Regions from separate parts of the Homo sapiens genome. Here region 2 is linked to region 1. Evidence: promoter capture Hi-C in 16 types of primary human blood cells and fetal thymus (Javierre and others, 2016). All regions are on one chromosome and are shown on one strand. Each heading gives the region's core, a stretch centred on a gene start or on the middle of the fragment in contact. The rest is flanking DNA. Distances are from core to core; before and after follow the strand shown. Region 1 holds the start of PLN (phospholamban). Region 2 overlaps MCM9 (minichromosome maintenance 9 homologous recombination repair factor).

Region 1 (7,901 bases), core at 1,625-4,124:
ACAAAGAGACTACTTGATTCTAGGGAACCTAGAATAAAGTATCGAAATGTGATTTTTGTGAAAGTTTTGAGGAGATGTTAACTTGGATTTTAGGTATCAGATGAATTGAAGGCATGAGTATTTTAGCAATGAAACAAATAAAAGGAAACTTTGATTGATTGGGGTGTGTTATTTTTTTTAAAGTCTGTGCAGTTAGTTTGAATTTTGCCTTCCAGGAGGTATTGCTTAATAACTAAGGGCATCTGTAATTTTCGTATATTTCTGGTTTTGAAAATGATCAGTAGAATATAATTTAGACTATTAAGAATGTAATGCTATGCATAAATTGAATTTAAATGGAGTGGAATGGCTTTTAATTAAAATAGAAGTTTGTATTCTCTGAATTTGCCTTTTGCCTTTTAGAATATCATTTACAGTATTTGGGGGCTTTCAAATTTTGTTTGTCAGTGTCATGGTTTACTTTAAGCCATGCTGATCAGTATATAGAGGATGTGCATGTGGCTTAGTGACAAAACCTAAACTTCTGCCAAGGTTTCCCTGTTTTCTTAGTTCTGTGATCTTGAGCAGTTCACCTTTTTGCATCTTTCCTAAATTGTAGAATAGGGATGCAGTATCAAATATATAATTAAGAGGACCAAATGAAATATTTGTGTACACGAGTATATTAGGAAATTGCTCTTTAAGAATAAAAAAGAAGTGTTCATTGGCCCTCCTCATTTCTGGGATTGGTAATATATTGTCTAATTTGGAGAGGTAACTAGACTTTAGGTTTTTTAATTAAAAATTTAATATATTACATAATTTAGTGTACATGTGTAATGAGTACATTAAAACATTAAAATACATTAAAATTTTCTGAAACTATTGTATTTATGCAATATTTTATTATTTCTTAATCTCACTAATTAAAGATATGATTATATACCCAAATGTGATCATTTTCCTTTATGCCTACTAAAATACAAATAAAATGGATTTGATATTTGAGTTTTAGGAAATGATAGTGCTGTCACGCCTTTTAGTAAAGCAAGTACTCTGGCTCTTTCATGCGTTTTTAAAACTTAATGCTTCTTAATTTAAACATCTTTCATATTTTTTCCATTTGATTTCATCTAACACTTTTTTTAGCACTTACTTTGAAACCACATGTCTTCATAAACAAAGATAATACTTAACTTGCACCTTAAGGTATAGATGAACTAGTTGGGACACAATGTATGGTACTACCACATTATATTTGAAATTTTAGCAGTCTCTGTAACTGTAATTTCTGTTAACTGAGACATACTAGTGAGCTAAGGGTAAGTTTAATATAATTTCTGCTCTATCCAGAAGTATGTGTACTTTTTAGAGTAATATGTGATATAGCAAAATTCTGATACAATAAAATAACTCGTGAACACCCAATTTGAAGTGTGAGAATGTAATTTGATAGATATTTGAATAAAAATGCACAAATAACATAAGACACCTACACTGAATGACTTTTATGTACTATCAAAGGAAAAATATGAGTATAGAGATATGGAGACACAATTAGGATACCTCAGTGGTAGACAAAAATTATGTTTTTTTATGTCTTAAGGAAAGCTGCTTACAGAGTTACAAAGTTCTTATTTGTAGTGAGCAATAGAATTAACATTTGTCATAGGAATTGAGAATTTTAGAGATAAATTTTATTTTAACATATATATGAAATATGAAAATCAAAATAAATAAAATATATGTAATTTTCTGTATGCCCTGACAGAGATCTAAGAATGAGGAAACGTTTCATTTACTAAATTGAGGATTGTAACATAAAGAATAGGGTAGAATTCAAACAGAAGTCATAAAATTGATTGTGGCATCTCCATTCCTGGCATTTATTTTATTTTTTCCTTTCTTTCTAAATCCGAGAGAGGAAATGGAGTACCACTGGAGGATAATAACTTGACAAAACTATAGGCATTAATAGGCAGAAATCCATTTAATCAAATTTGTGTGAAAATAAGATAGTTAAGAATATTCGTGTGTCAAAATAACTTTTTAAAGTATCAAATTATTCTCTAACGTCAGATTTTTTGTGTTTGTGAACATTGTTTTAAAATTTCTAAACTTCTTTATGATACAATATTGAATTTAATATCAGTAACTCAATTTATTAATAGCATGGAATTTTTTTAGAAATGTTTGTTAAAAGTTGACTGGACTTTAGAGGGGAAACATCCTCAAGGGCACTTTAAAAGTAGCTTGTATTATATATTCTGAAACTCCATTTCATTATTCACTGTATGAAATTATGATAATATTGGAATAGGCATGCTGATAATGTGCATGTTGTAGTCAAATGACTATTCATATTAGTTCAGATGTAAATAGCTCAGTTCTGCACTGTTTCTCAGCAGAGCAATAAATAACAAAATTAAGTCATTGTTTTTGCATGGAGAAATTAACCACTACTACCAAATATGGTAACATAATTGGAAGATTTTTTAATTGGCAGAAATTCACATTTGAAAAGCAAAATAAAAGTGAAAGATAAATTTAAATGACAAACCAGTAACCAGGATCAAAGATGAATATGACCTTTTTCATTTCAAAGTTGTCTCATTTTTCCTGTCACTAAATGGATAAGCATTTATAAATTTAAGCACTTTGTCATGTCATTTTATTGCCTAAGATTGAACTGATATTCATAAAATTAACTCATTTTAAAAGTTCAGATTATAGAAATTATAGGAATTAAGAATTATAGAAAGTAAGAATTACCAAAGTCAGCGAAATCTGTTTCTTACCTTGGCAGCTGTGATCATCACAGTATAGAGTATTGTGTTGTATGAAGTCTTACGGGTGTTTAGCTGGGGAGTTTTCTGACTCTGTCACCCAGTTTATGGGAACAGTTGCAGTAGGTGGAGGAGAAAAAGTGTTCTAGGGAGGTCTTATGATGTCACATAGGAATTCTGAAGTTTCGATTGGTTAGCCACAGTCTCAGTCTTATCACAACCAAACTTTAGAACTTCTTACTTTAGGTATGGAAAAGTCATTAACACTTTGTGCTTCATCTTTTGTTTTTAATTTAAAACAGTATATGGTAGATAAATGAAAAAAATAAGTAAACTTGAGGTGGTGGAAAGCTTTTGTTAAAGATTCATGCATCTTCAGGCTTAGAGATAATTGAATATTAATGGTGAAGATGTTGAAGAGCTAAAATAGTTACTGCAGGAATTTTAATTATGAGAAAAATAAACACAGGTATAAGCAAAACAACTTTCATTGAATTCTTGCTGCTGTTGCTTTAATACGTGTCTTCATAATGTTAGCTTTTAGTGAAAGTGAAATATTTTTACACAATAAAATTTTATACCTGTTTTCTTATTTTGTTCTTGTTCTTGTGTGTATGGGAGAAGGAGTATGAGAAAATCAGGCTAATTGCTTTTTGTTTTAAAAAATTATTTTTATCTTACAGTTAAAGAACTAATAAATGTATTTAATTCATTTGTGTTTTCTTCAATTAGCAGTTTAACAATATATTTGTGAATAGTAATACTTATATTTAAACTGATACATACAACACCCCCAAAATAGCAATATGCTACTTTAAGTATTTAAGATTTTTTAAAAACAATTGCATTAAATTATTACACAATCTTACCAAATTTTTAATAAACTGATGCAGTATTAAGGGCAACTTTATGGCAAAAAAGAAATAATTACAGATTCCAAATCAGTTACATCTCAGTTAATGAGGCTTTATAGGTTTGATGTGTTGAAATTTAAGTTTTGTAATGTTTTTGAAAGGATGTGCCTCATTTAATCTAGCAGTTGCTTTCCTGAAAATTACTATAAAAATGAGATGCTAGTAAGTGAGATGATATTTTGAACTTCCTAGAACAGTTTATCTTACAGTAGAACTGGGGAAATAATTTTTTTGTAAAGCCGGGCATCATTCTCCTCTTCTCTGTTTATCTAATTTGTTGTCTTAGATGTTAGATTTACTTAAGTCACCACACTCGAAAATATTAATTCTTAAATCTCTTCTTTAATTTTAGAGGAGGTACTTGTAATTTTTAATTTTTTAAATGCTTATGACAGAGTGAACTTAGCCCACTTCACTTTCTTATGGGTAACTAAAATGTGTAGCAGCAGCTGCTTACATGCCCTTAAATGGAAATGATCTTGGCTTCTTCCAAAGAAAGAAAATCCATCTCTAGAGCAAATCATTTGATATTTAAAGAGTCAGCTTAAAACTAACTGAAAAATAATATTTTAGCAAAGATATCCTGTGAACATTGCCAAGGGAAAATTTACAACTTAAAAGTAAAACCCAAGTTAAGGAAATTGCAGAATAATGTTTGATACTTTTCTCAGTGCTACAACCATTTTTCTTTCAATCCTTACATAATGAGGATCTCTCAGTACTATCAGTTACCAATGATGATTGATAATACAAAACCGAGAAGCCTAACGAGGTTTACAGTAATTTGTCAGAGATAACCAGCTGCTAAAGAATAGACAGGATTCAAATCCAGATCTGTCTGTTTATAATTCCTAATCTGTTGGCATGCTGTGGGAAAAAATTATAATTTGAATATAGCTTTCATTAGAGTAGCATATAGTAACTGAGAAATTTTTAAGATGTAAATAGATGCATTCTTGAGCACTGTTAATAGTTTTAGAAAGTCTGCTTTAAGTTTGTCTACCAGTTACACATTCATTTGAAATTTAGGTGATAGATCATTGTTCTGAGAACTTCTCATTCTAAGAAAATAGAATTAGTAATACTTAGTTGGATAAACCAAGAAGCTGCCGTAGACAGAATAAAATATGCCCTAGTTACCACATGTTTATAAGTTTACTTAAAAAGTATACATAGGCATATACACACCTTAGAAGGATACTAACAACTGTGTGTGACACAGTTGGAAAATGGATTCAAAAATTTACTTTTTAGATTGGTACAAGAGTGGGGAGTTTTTGTGTTTACCTTGTTCCTTTGGGTTAGCTAGTGAAGATGACGATGATGGTGATGATCTCATGTGGAACTCTAGGAAGTATTAGATTTTAGTTTTAACTGAACATTGTTTTTAATTGCCCAAACAGAAAGTTGTTTAATAGGAGTATTAATGAGTTATAGTGTTATCAGTAGAGTGTTCCTCAATGATTCCTCAGCTAGAGGCTAGAAAATTTTTTTGAGGTGCTTTGTCACAGTCTTCATTTGGAGTTACACTATAGTTTGAATGTATTTTTGGTCACATGGCTTTATACAAATAACTTTCCTAAGCAGCCTAATCTGTGGAATAGTATTTGTGATGGTTTAATGACATGAAGTGTACATAGTGATTATCAGAGATCCTGCAACAGTGTTCATTTAGTGTTAGCACTTATTTTCTTTTTTCCTTTAGAAGGTGGATTCTTAAGGGTAAAGTGTCTTTGAACTTGGATGGGAAAATAATTACAAATTTATTTTTACTAAGCTCTAAATGAAATTTAGTATTCAGTTTCAACTGAATCATGAGTTCATGTCTTTACTTTTGTTTTTATATAGTTTTGTAGCATTTTAAATGTGTTCCTCAAAAGTATTACTAATTTTTTTTGGAAGGGGGTGCGGAGTCTCACTCTGTTACTCAGCCCCGAGTGAATGGTGCGATCTCAGCTCACTGCAACCTCTCCCTCTCGGGTTCAAGCGATTCTCCTGCCTCAGCCTCCCAAGTAGCTGAGACTACAGGCGTGTGCCACCACGCCCAGCTAACTTTTGTATTTTTAGTAGAGATGGGGTTTCACCATATTGCCCAGGCTGGTCTCAAACTCCTGACCTCGTGATCTGCCCACCTCGGCCTCCCAAAGTGCTGGGATTACAGGCGTGAGCCACCGCGCCCAGCTATATTACTAACGTTTTGTGAAGGGCACTGTGATGTATGTAGTAATCTTTTACATTGAGCATTTAAACTCCAGTCTGTAGTGGTGTATCCGGAGGGCGAAGAAGCTTCAAAATAGAATCGGTTTTTGGAAATTTTTGACCAGAAGTTAATATAAGTGATGACTAAATTAAAGCATTTTAATATTTAGACAGAGATACAGTAAAATGCAAGCTTTGAATCAATTTTTGTAATGTTCACAATACATCAAAGATAAGGAGCTTTTTTTAGATTAGATCTCCTAGACACCCAGGAAGAAGATTTTACCTATCTCTTGAGGGTACTTGAGGGTTTGATAATTACTGCCTTAAATTTTAAAGCTACGTAGGGAAGGACTGGTTCAAAAAACATCTAAGCAAAACTGCGAATAAGAATTAGTGGTCTGAGATTGAGAGGATGGAAATTCTCTCCATAGGGCAATAGGGAAAAGAAAATAAGATTTACTCATCAACTGGAGTTGGGGGGCTGTTGATATAACCCAGTGATAAAGTAACCTATAAAGCTTAGGGGTCATTTGGGGGAGGTAGGTTCACTTTTCACTTGATTTGCCAGATAACCTGGAGACCCAAACATTTTATTTTTTCATAAATATCTGAATTCTGGGCAAATTCTCTTTCCTCATCTTGATGAGGGGTGGAGAAGAGCATTGACATTAAGAGAGGCCAGATGGATTAAGAAAAGGACTCATATAGGTCTACATAAATTTTGGAAAGTTATTAAACATTCTAAGTGATAGAAATGCTATAGCATGCTACGTGGCTTCAAGGAAATTATGGTTTATCAGTATACAAATAATATGGAAATGAAAATTTAACATTTAGAAGGTAACCACTAGTGCAAGATAACACCAGGAGAAAAAGAAATTCCCAATTGAGAGTCAAATGAGCACGTGTAATAATAAGCAGTATGACTTCTAAGAGAAGTGCATGTTTTGTACAAAGGAAACGGACAGAACCAAAGCCAAAAATAACAAAGGGAAACACATACATCACAAAACAAATTTAACAACAAAAACCAACCCTTAGGTCTCCAAATACTTGCTTCAAAATTCTATAGGGTCCCGATCATGATGCTGTTACATTGTTAAGAAGGTTCTATTTCAATTTAATGATTGTAGTATTTCTCCAGACATATTAAATTTCTTATCTTTGTGGTTGATATCTCAGCCCTTTGAGCTCCTCGCATTCGCAAACTTTGTGGTGGCACTATCACTGATTTTGATACAAAATTGAAATTGGAGGCTCATACCTTTTCTGTCTTCTGCCAGACTCCCCATTCACTTAGAAACCAAATGCAGATTGTGAAATATGTCTTTGTTCTCATAGCCTGACCAACTCTCCTCTTAACTTTCATAGACGTTTATTAACTAGTTTTTCTACCCTTCGTTGTGACTCTTTCCTACTCAGTTTTTACTCTGATATCCAAGTGCACATTTGATTGTCATTCACATGCTGAGAACTTTTTATTGATTTCTCTTTCGAGATGAAAAACCCACTCTTTACAGAATTACATAAAACATCGTTCCTGATCTGTCCATTGCCATGTATGCCTACCATAACGATTTGACAACTCTGCCATTATATGTTATTTCTTCTATCCGAATTATTTTCCTTACTGTCTTGTTCTTATAGAACTCCTTCATTATTCAGAAGTAGGTGGGGAGAAGCCCTGTTTTGCTTGTTCTTAATTTCTAATTATACAAGTAATAAGTGAATATCTCTTATAATTCAGAAAAGTCAGATAAATCTGAAGTTGGTGGGGGACTTTTTATATTATATAGGTCTATTTATTTTCCTTGCCATAAACTTCATGAATAGAGACTGATTGATTTTTTTAAGCTCTACACACTGTTTATCCCTTAGAAGGCTCAATAAGATATTTTTATACTTAATGGATATTTAGAATATTATTTTTCTATTACAAGTGAACTCTTAAAAAGGATAAGTTGAAAGAAGAGAGAATAAAGGCCCTCAGAAACTTAGATAAACTAATTTTCTTTGTCCC
Region 2 (7,901 bases), core at 3,876-6,375, 330 kb before region 1:
ATTTGCTTTTGGCTTAAAGAACCTCCTTTAGTAATTCTTTTAAGGCATGTCTGCTAGCTACTGATGCTCCCAGTTTTTGTTTATCTGGGAATGTCTTTATTTTTCCATAATTTTTGAAAGATAGTTTTGCTGGATATCAGACTCCGGGTTCGATTTTTTTTTTTCTTTCAGCACTTTGAATATGTAATCCCACTGCCTCTGGCCTCCACTGTTTCTGATTAGAAGTCAGCTCTTAATTTTATTGTGGCTCCCTTTTAAATGAAGAGTTGTTCTCTTATTGATTTAAAATTTTCTCTTTATCTTCAGTTTTCAGCATTTCTGCTATGATTTATGGGTGTGGATTTTTTAAAACATATATCCTACTTGGATTTTGTTGAGCTTCTTGAATGTATAGTCCATTGTTTTTCATCAAATTTGGAGAGTTTTCAGTCATTTTTTTCTAACTTTTTTTCTACTCCTTTTAGTTCCCCTCCTTCTGGTACTCCCAATATATATATATTATTCTGATTAAAGGTGTACAACATTTCTTTGACACTCTGCTCATTTTTTATCTTGCCCTTTACCTCTGTTCTTTGGATTGCATAATTTCAACTGATCTCTCTTAAAGTTTGCTGACTTTTTCTTCTGCAATTTCAGGTTTACTCTTGAGCTATCTAGTGAATTTTTTGTTTCAGTTATTGTACATTTCAAATCCAGAATTCTTACTTGGTTTTTAAAAATCCTTTTTATCTCTTATTGATATTCTCTATTTGTTGAGACATTGTCATCATCCCTTTTTTTTTTTTTTTTTTTGCATCTTTGAGCACATGTAAAATGGCTACTTTGAAGGCTTTGCCCACTACATTTGAAATCTGGATCCTCTCACAGGCAGCTTCTGTTGTCTGCTTTTTCTCCCTGTGTGTGGGCCACATTTTCCTGTTTTTTTGCACATCTTATACTTCTTTGTTAAAAACCGGATATTTTAATTTAATGTATTATACCAGTTCTTTATATTAATTCTCCTCCAGGCCTCGTTTTTTATCCTTTTTTTTATTGTTGTTTGCTTGTTTAGTAACTTGGCTAGGTTCATTTCTTGAAGTCTGTGTCTCCTCACAGTGTGAAGTCGCTGATGTTACTCCTCAGAGGCAACAGCCTTTACGTGTGTGTACAGTCACTCTTAGGATGATAATTTTAACCAACCTTTCCTTGACTCTCTCCTTGATCTCTGTTAAGCTATCTGTGCTGTTTGGTATCATACTCGGCTGGTAGGCTCTAGTTGTTGATTGCTCTGTTCTTTTTGGCAATGCCCTGGGGATAAGTTGCTCAGCACTCTGGTTCAATTAAATTTGGTCAGGGATACTTTTTGAATCCAGTACTTGAGGTTTGTTCTGACCCCAGAAGTGCTCTTGTTGGCTGTTTCCCTGGTTCTCTATGGTAAACTAGCTGGCCTATGGTTTAGCATACAGCTGTAATAGAGCTACCAGCCTTTTTATTACTTGCTACCAAAATCTCCATTAGGCTTGAATTTCCCTGCACTGTGTTCCAAATAAAGTCAGTTTCTTGTGGGGGAAGATTCAGATTTTCCTTTCCCTGTTTTTGTGGACTCTCTCTCCCCCTGGTCAAACTCTCTGAGCTACTGCTCCAGCCAGGGGGCGGAAATGGTAGCCTCTGCCCTTATTGGCTTTGTCTTTCCAGGTGGAACCTTTACCTTATGAGTCAGCTGGATTGAAGGCATTTGGGGTGCCGAGGATTCTTTGCCTGTCACACCTAGGGTAGATCCTCTACTCTGTGCGTTGGGATTGGGTGGAGGAAGGAAGATCGTGACCTTTTGGCCACAGTCACCAGGAATTTAGCTTCTGTACCTCACACGTGGAGGGGATAAGAAATGCTTTCTACCCCTCCTGGTACGATATCTTATCCCTTGATTAAGAGCTCATAGGGAGCTCCTCTTCTTGACCACATTCACCTGTAGTGAAGCCTCCATCCAGCTAAGCAAGAAGAGAAGGGGAGAGGCAGGAAGCAGGTCATGATTTAAGTGTCTTAGACTCTCACTATTCTTATGAAGTTTTAGATTTCAATGAATAAATGTTTCTTCATTTACTGTATGCCCTTAGATTTTCCATAGTCTGTATAAATGGTTGGATTTTAAAAAATAATTTTCACCAGTTATACTTGCTTCAGTGAGGAGGATGTCCATGGAGCTCCTCACACTGCCATTGCAGAAGTGAAACCTCTGAAGTGATGTTTTTAACGCTGTTTTCACTGTTCAGTTTTTCTAAGTGCAGTCATTATTCCTGGTTTGCTAGTAATTTCTGGTGCCATTTTTCCTCCCTTGGTGTTTTTAATGAAGCTTTATTTGGTCACTAGTTCCATGTCCTCATAGAGAAAATGTAATACTTATACAATAAATTCCGCACATTGACTCGCTCACTGAATTTTACCATAGGATACAAACAAACTACAAGTCAACAGGAAGATGAGTGCTGTTTTTTGGAAGGGTGTGTATAAATATGTATTGACTGGAGGTACTAGTTGGGAAATGGAAAGTTTCAAGGAGGAAGGAAACGTTCTTATCTAGATGCGGAGGGAGTCAGGATTGAAAAAGGTGGGGCTCAGGAAAGTTAGGGTGTATAAATTAAACATTATTATAAAATTATACGTAATCCTTGGCTGACATAGTACTTCAGTGCATTATGCTTACTTTAGTGCATGCAGTAGTTCATCCGGGGTTTTGCTTTGCATGATTTCAATTTCCCATAGTCAATCACTGTCTGAAAATAGATGAGTTCATTACAGTAAGATATTTTGAGAAAGACCACGTTCACATAACTTTTATTGCAGTATATTGTTATAATTGTTCTATTATTATTTTTTGTTAATCTCTGTGCCTAATTTATAAATTACCTTATCTTAGGTTTGTATGTGTAGGAAAAACATAGTGTGTATAGGGTTCAGTACTAGCCACACTTTCAGGCATGCACTGGGGGTCTTGGAACGTATCCCCTGTGGATAAGGAGAGACTACTATGCTTTGATATTAACAATAAATGTTTGCTGAATTGTTGAACACAGGAATCCTCTACAAGAAGAGAGAATGAATTGGTACTCATCCCTTTGTCCCCTGGCTGCCTTCTACTAACTTCCCTATTCCAGTACTAAAAACCCAAAGTTTGAAAGGAAAGACATCTTAAATATAATCACCTTTTAATCATTAGAAGTACTATTTATTTCCCTCTTCTTGCCTCTCATAAGACAGAGACAAAGAGACAACTTTGTTTTCCTTCTGTCTTTTGCATTCAAGGAATTAACAAAAGTGGGAAGAAATACTTAGCTGTCTTAGTTTTTAATTACCTTTGCCACAGATTTCAGGAAATGGCTGAAAGTCCTTTCTGTATTGCTAAGAGACAGATTTAGAAGGGATTTTTAGAACCTTTAGTCCTTTAGGCAGTTACCTACTCATTGCATAAATACCTTTTTATACTATCCTGACAAGTGGACATTCTACTTTGACTTACTTTGATGAAAAGTTCACTATTTTGTAAGGCAGCTCATTCCTCTTCAAACACCTCGAGTTTCCAACAGTTCCTTGTAAACTTCTACATGTTAGTCTCAGTTAATTTCTTTTGAAGCTGCTACAAATTTATCTAATTCCTCTTCCATAGGAGAGTTTTCAGAGGATATAAAAATTTCGATTCCCTGTATTTTTTTTTTTAATTAGGCTAAACAGACCCAATGTTACAAACCATTCTTTAAATGGTATTATTTGCATGTCCTTCATTATTTCATTGCCCTTTTTATTCTTTCTTTTTCTTTTCTTTGGTGTTTTTTTTTTGTTGTTGTTTGTTTGTTTGTTTTGTGCACTCTCACTCTGTCGCCCAGGCTGGAGTGCAGTGCATGAGCTCGGCTCCACCTCCCAGGTTCAAGTGATTCTCCTTGCCTTGCCTCCCAAGTGGCTGGGATTACAGGGACCCACCACCACGCCTGGTTAATTTTTGTATTATTAATAGAGACAGGGTTTCACCATGTTGGCCAGGCTGGTCTCAAACTCCTGACCTCAAGTGATCCACCTACCTCAGCCTCCCAAAGTGCTGGGATTACAGGCATTAGCCACTGCACCCCGCCTAGTCTTTCTATTAGTTTTTTTTTTTTTTAATTTGATGTCCCAACATGGACATTAAAACACTAGATCAAGAATTGGCATCCTTTTTCTGTAAAAGGCCACATACTAGTATTTTTTATTCTGATGGCAGTATAATGTCTATCACAACTACTTACCTCTGCCATTATAATATGAAAGCAGCCATAGACAGTATGTAAACAAATTAGCATGACTGTATTCCAATAAAATTATATTTCCAAAAACAGGTAGCTAGGCCACATTTTGTGCATAGATCCTCTAGAAGTTGTCTAACAGATATCTACACTTGTGAATGCTATTCTTGTGTTAATGCATTTTTAAGATCATATTCAGATATTTTGACTGATATTAGTATAGCTTCCTCAATTCTGTTTTGGTTATTGTTTGAACAAAATATCTTTCTCCATCCTTTCACTTTTAACCTATTTGTGCCTTTAAGTCTAAAGTGTGTCTCTTGTAGACAGCACATAGTTGGATCATGGGTTTTTTTTTTTTTTCCCCCTCCATTCTAACAACCTTTGCCTTTTCATGAAGTAGTTCATCTGTTTCCATTTAATGTAATTACTCACAAGGCAGGATTCATGTATACTATGCTCCTCTTTGTTTTCTACATGTCTTATGTCTTCTTTGTTCTTACATTCCTCCATTTCTGCCTTCTTTTGTATTTTTTGTCTGTTTTGTTTTGTTTTTGAGACAGGGTCTTCCTCTGTTGCCCAGGCTGGAATGCAGTGGTATGATCTTGGCTCACTGCAGCCTCCACCTCTTGGGCTTAAATGATTCTCCTAACTCAACCACCCAAGTAGCCAGGACTACAGGTGTGTGCCACCTGCCCAGCTAATTTTTGTATTTTTAGTAGAGACGGGGTTTTGTCATGTTGCCCAGGCTGGTCTTGAACGTCTGAGCTCAAGCAATCCACCCACCTCAGCCTCCCAAAGTGCTGGGATTACAGGTGTAAGCCACTGTGCCCAGCCTCTTTGGCATTAAATATATTAAATATATATTTTCTAATGTATTATTTTAATACCCTTCTTGTTTCTTATATATTTAAAGATATTAATAGTTGCCTTGGGGGTTATTACCAACTTTTTAATTTAAAGCAGTTTAGTTCAGATTAATGCCAATTCAATTTTCATAGTGTGTAAAAATTTGTTACAATGTAATTCTATTCCCTTTTCTTTGTGCTATTATTGTCATACAAATTATATCTTCATATGTTATAAGCCACTCAACACATTTTATAATTTGTGCTTATACAATTTTCTTTTAAATCAGATAAAAGAAAAAAAGTTACAAAGTTACAGTTATGCTGTCTTTCATTTTTTACCTATATAGTTATCTTTATTGGTGCATTTTATTTCTTCATGTAGGGTTGAATTACCATCTTAGTGTTTTTTCATTTCAGCCTGAAAGACTCCTGTAGTATTTCTTATAGGTCTATTAGCATTAATTTGTTTTTGCTTTTTTTTAACTTTACATTAATTAAATTGTAGACTATGTATTTTTTGATCAGTATTATCTTTTAATATTCTCTCCATATTGTGTTTAGCTGTACAATACTTTATCTTGTTTTTGTTTTTCTGTTTTGAGGCAGGGTCTCGCTCTGTCACCCAGGCTGGAGTGCAGTAGTGTTATCATAGCTCACTGCAGCCTGGAACTCCTGGGCTCAAGCAGTCTTCTTGTCTTAGTCTCCCAAATGGCTAGGATTACAGTCATGCACCACCATGCCTTGCTAATTTTTTAAATTTTTGTAGAGATGAACTCTCACTCTGTTGCCCAGGCTTGTCTTGAACTCCTGGCCTCAAGTGATCCCTCATCTCAGCCTCCTAAAGTGTTGAGATTACAGGTGAGAGCCACCACACCAGGCCTAGTACTTTGTTTTTTAATTGTTATGCATTATTCCACGGTCTGAATATACCACAATTTATTCATCTGTTCTGTTGATAGCCTTTTCAGTTGTTTCCAGGTTTAACTATTATGAAGAATTTTATGATGAGCCCTCTTTTACCTATCTCCCTCCTGGTGCAGATGGTCACAATCTCTGTATGGAACAGACTTAGCAGTGAAGTTTCTGAGTACATGAGTATGTATAACTGAAACTTTTGTAGATATTGCCAAACTCTTTTCCAAAATAGTTGTATCCGTTATTATTCCCATTAGTAGCACATGAGAGTTGACTTTGCCTCACAACCTTGCCAGTACTTGCACTGTCAGATTTTTAAATACTTAACCATACTTGTGGGTGTGTAATGGCATTACACTGTAGTTTTAATTTGAATTTTCCTTATTATTTATGAGGTTGAGCACCTTTTCATGTGTTTATTGACTTTCTCTTTCATGAAATACCTATTTTAAGTCCATTCTCCATTTTTCCATTAGGTTGTCTGTCTTTCTCTTAGTGGTCTTGGCTAGGTTATGTAGTACTGAGTAAGAGACCACTTCAAAACTTAGCAGCTTATTTTGTTTACAGATCTGCAATTTGGGCAGGTTTTTTCTGTTCCATGTGCATCAGCTGTGGCAGCTCAACTGGGGGCTGGAGGATCCACTTTCAAGATAGCTACTCATATGCTTGGCACATTGGTGCTGACTGTAGGTTGGGTGCTCACCCTGGGCTGTGGGTCCTTGGTCCTCACTTTCTGTCCACACAGGCCTCTCTGTAGGTTGCTTAGGCTTCTTTACAACATAGTGGCTGGGCTCTAAAATCTAGCATTCCAAGAAAACAAGTCAGAAATGTCTAGCATTTTAACAATCTAGCCTTGAAAATGACATGGCATTGTTTTCACCATACTGTATGGGTCAAGGCAGTCACAAAGCTCTGCCCTGATTCAAGGGGAGGGGATATATTGAACATATTTTCATGTGCTTATTTGCCATGTGTATATTTTCTTTTATGAAAGGACTGTTCAAACTTTTTTGCTCAGTTTTTCAGTGAGGTTTTGTTTACTTCTTACTGAGTTTTGCAAATTCTTTATATATTCTGTGTACAAGTCCTTTATCAGATAAAGGATTTGCAAATACGTTCTCCCAATCTGTTGCTTATCTTTCACATTTTCTTAACATTGTAGAAGAACAAACATTTTTAACTTCAGCGAGGATCAACTTATAATTTTTCTTTGAGTACTGTGCCTTTGATGTCATATGTAAGAAATCTTTGCCCAACTCAGGGTCACAACAGTTTTTGCTTATTAATTAATAAAATTTGTTTTTTAGAGTAGTTTTAGGTTTACAACAAAGCTGAACAGAAACTATAGTTCCTATATTCTCCCTCCCTGCCATGCATACAACCTTCTCTAGTGTCAGCTAGTTTCAGAGTGGTACATTCATTACAACCGATAAACCAACAATGACACATCATTGCTACCCAAATTCTATTATTTACATTAGGATTCACTCAGTGTTGTACATTCCATGGGCTTTGGCAAATGTATAATGACACATATCCACCATTATGGTATTGTACAAAATAGTTTTACTGCCCCCAAATCCTCTGTGATCTGCCTGTTCATCCCTCATCCCTCTTTCCCTTCAACCCCTGGCAACCACTGATCTTTTAAATATCTCCATAGCTTTACTTTTTCGAGAATGTAATATAGTTGGAATCATACAGTATGTAGTATTTTCAGATTGGCCTCTTTTACTTACTAACATATGCTATTAAGGTTACTCCATGTCTTTTCATGCTCTGATAGCTCATTTGTGTTTAACAATGAATGATATTTTATTGTCTGATGTATTACAGTTTATCCATTTACCTACTGAAGGACAAGATGGTTGCCCCCAAGTTTCGG

The links. Contacts are between HindIII fragments. The CHiCAGO score rates a contact against its expected background, and 5 or more counts as called.
Region 2: a fragment that was not itself captured here is called in contact with the fragment with the promoter of PLN in region 1 in 2 of 17 cell types (total CD4 T cells and fetal thymus); the score reaches 5.6 in total CD4 T cells.

What each region holds. Positions count from the first base shown.
Region 1 is chr6:118,543,269-118,551,169 of GRCh38, reverse strand. PLN (phospholamban) reads right to left here and starts at 2,874. Exons shown (of 2, transcript NM_002667.5): 1 at 2,778-2,874. The region is part of intron 3 of CEP85L (centrosomal protein 85L); the gene reads left to right. The HindIII fragment of the contact is 6,726 bases long and covers 1-3,118 here.
Region 2 is chr6:118,875,961-118,883,861 of GRCh38, reverse strand. The region is part of intron 8 of MCM9 (minichromosome maintenance 9 homologous recombination repair factor); the gene reads left to right. Among named protein-coding and RNA genes, the nearest start is that of ASF1A, 14 kb to the left of the region's middle. The HindIII fragment of the contact is 5,587 bases long and covers 2,332-7,901 here.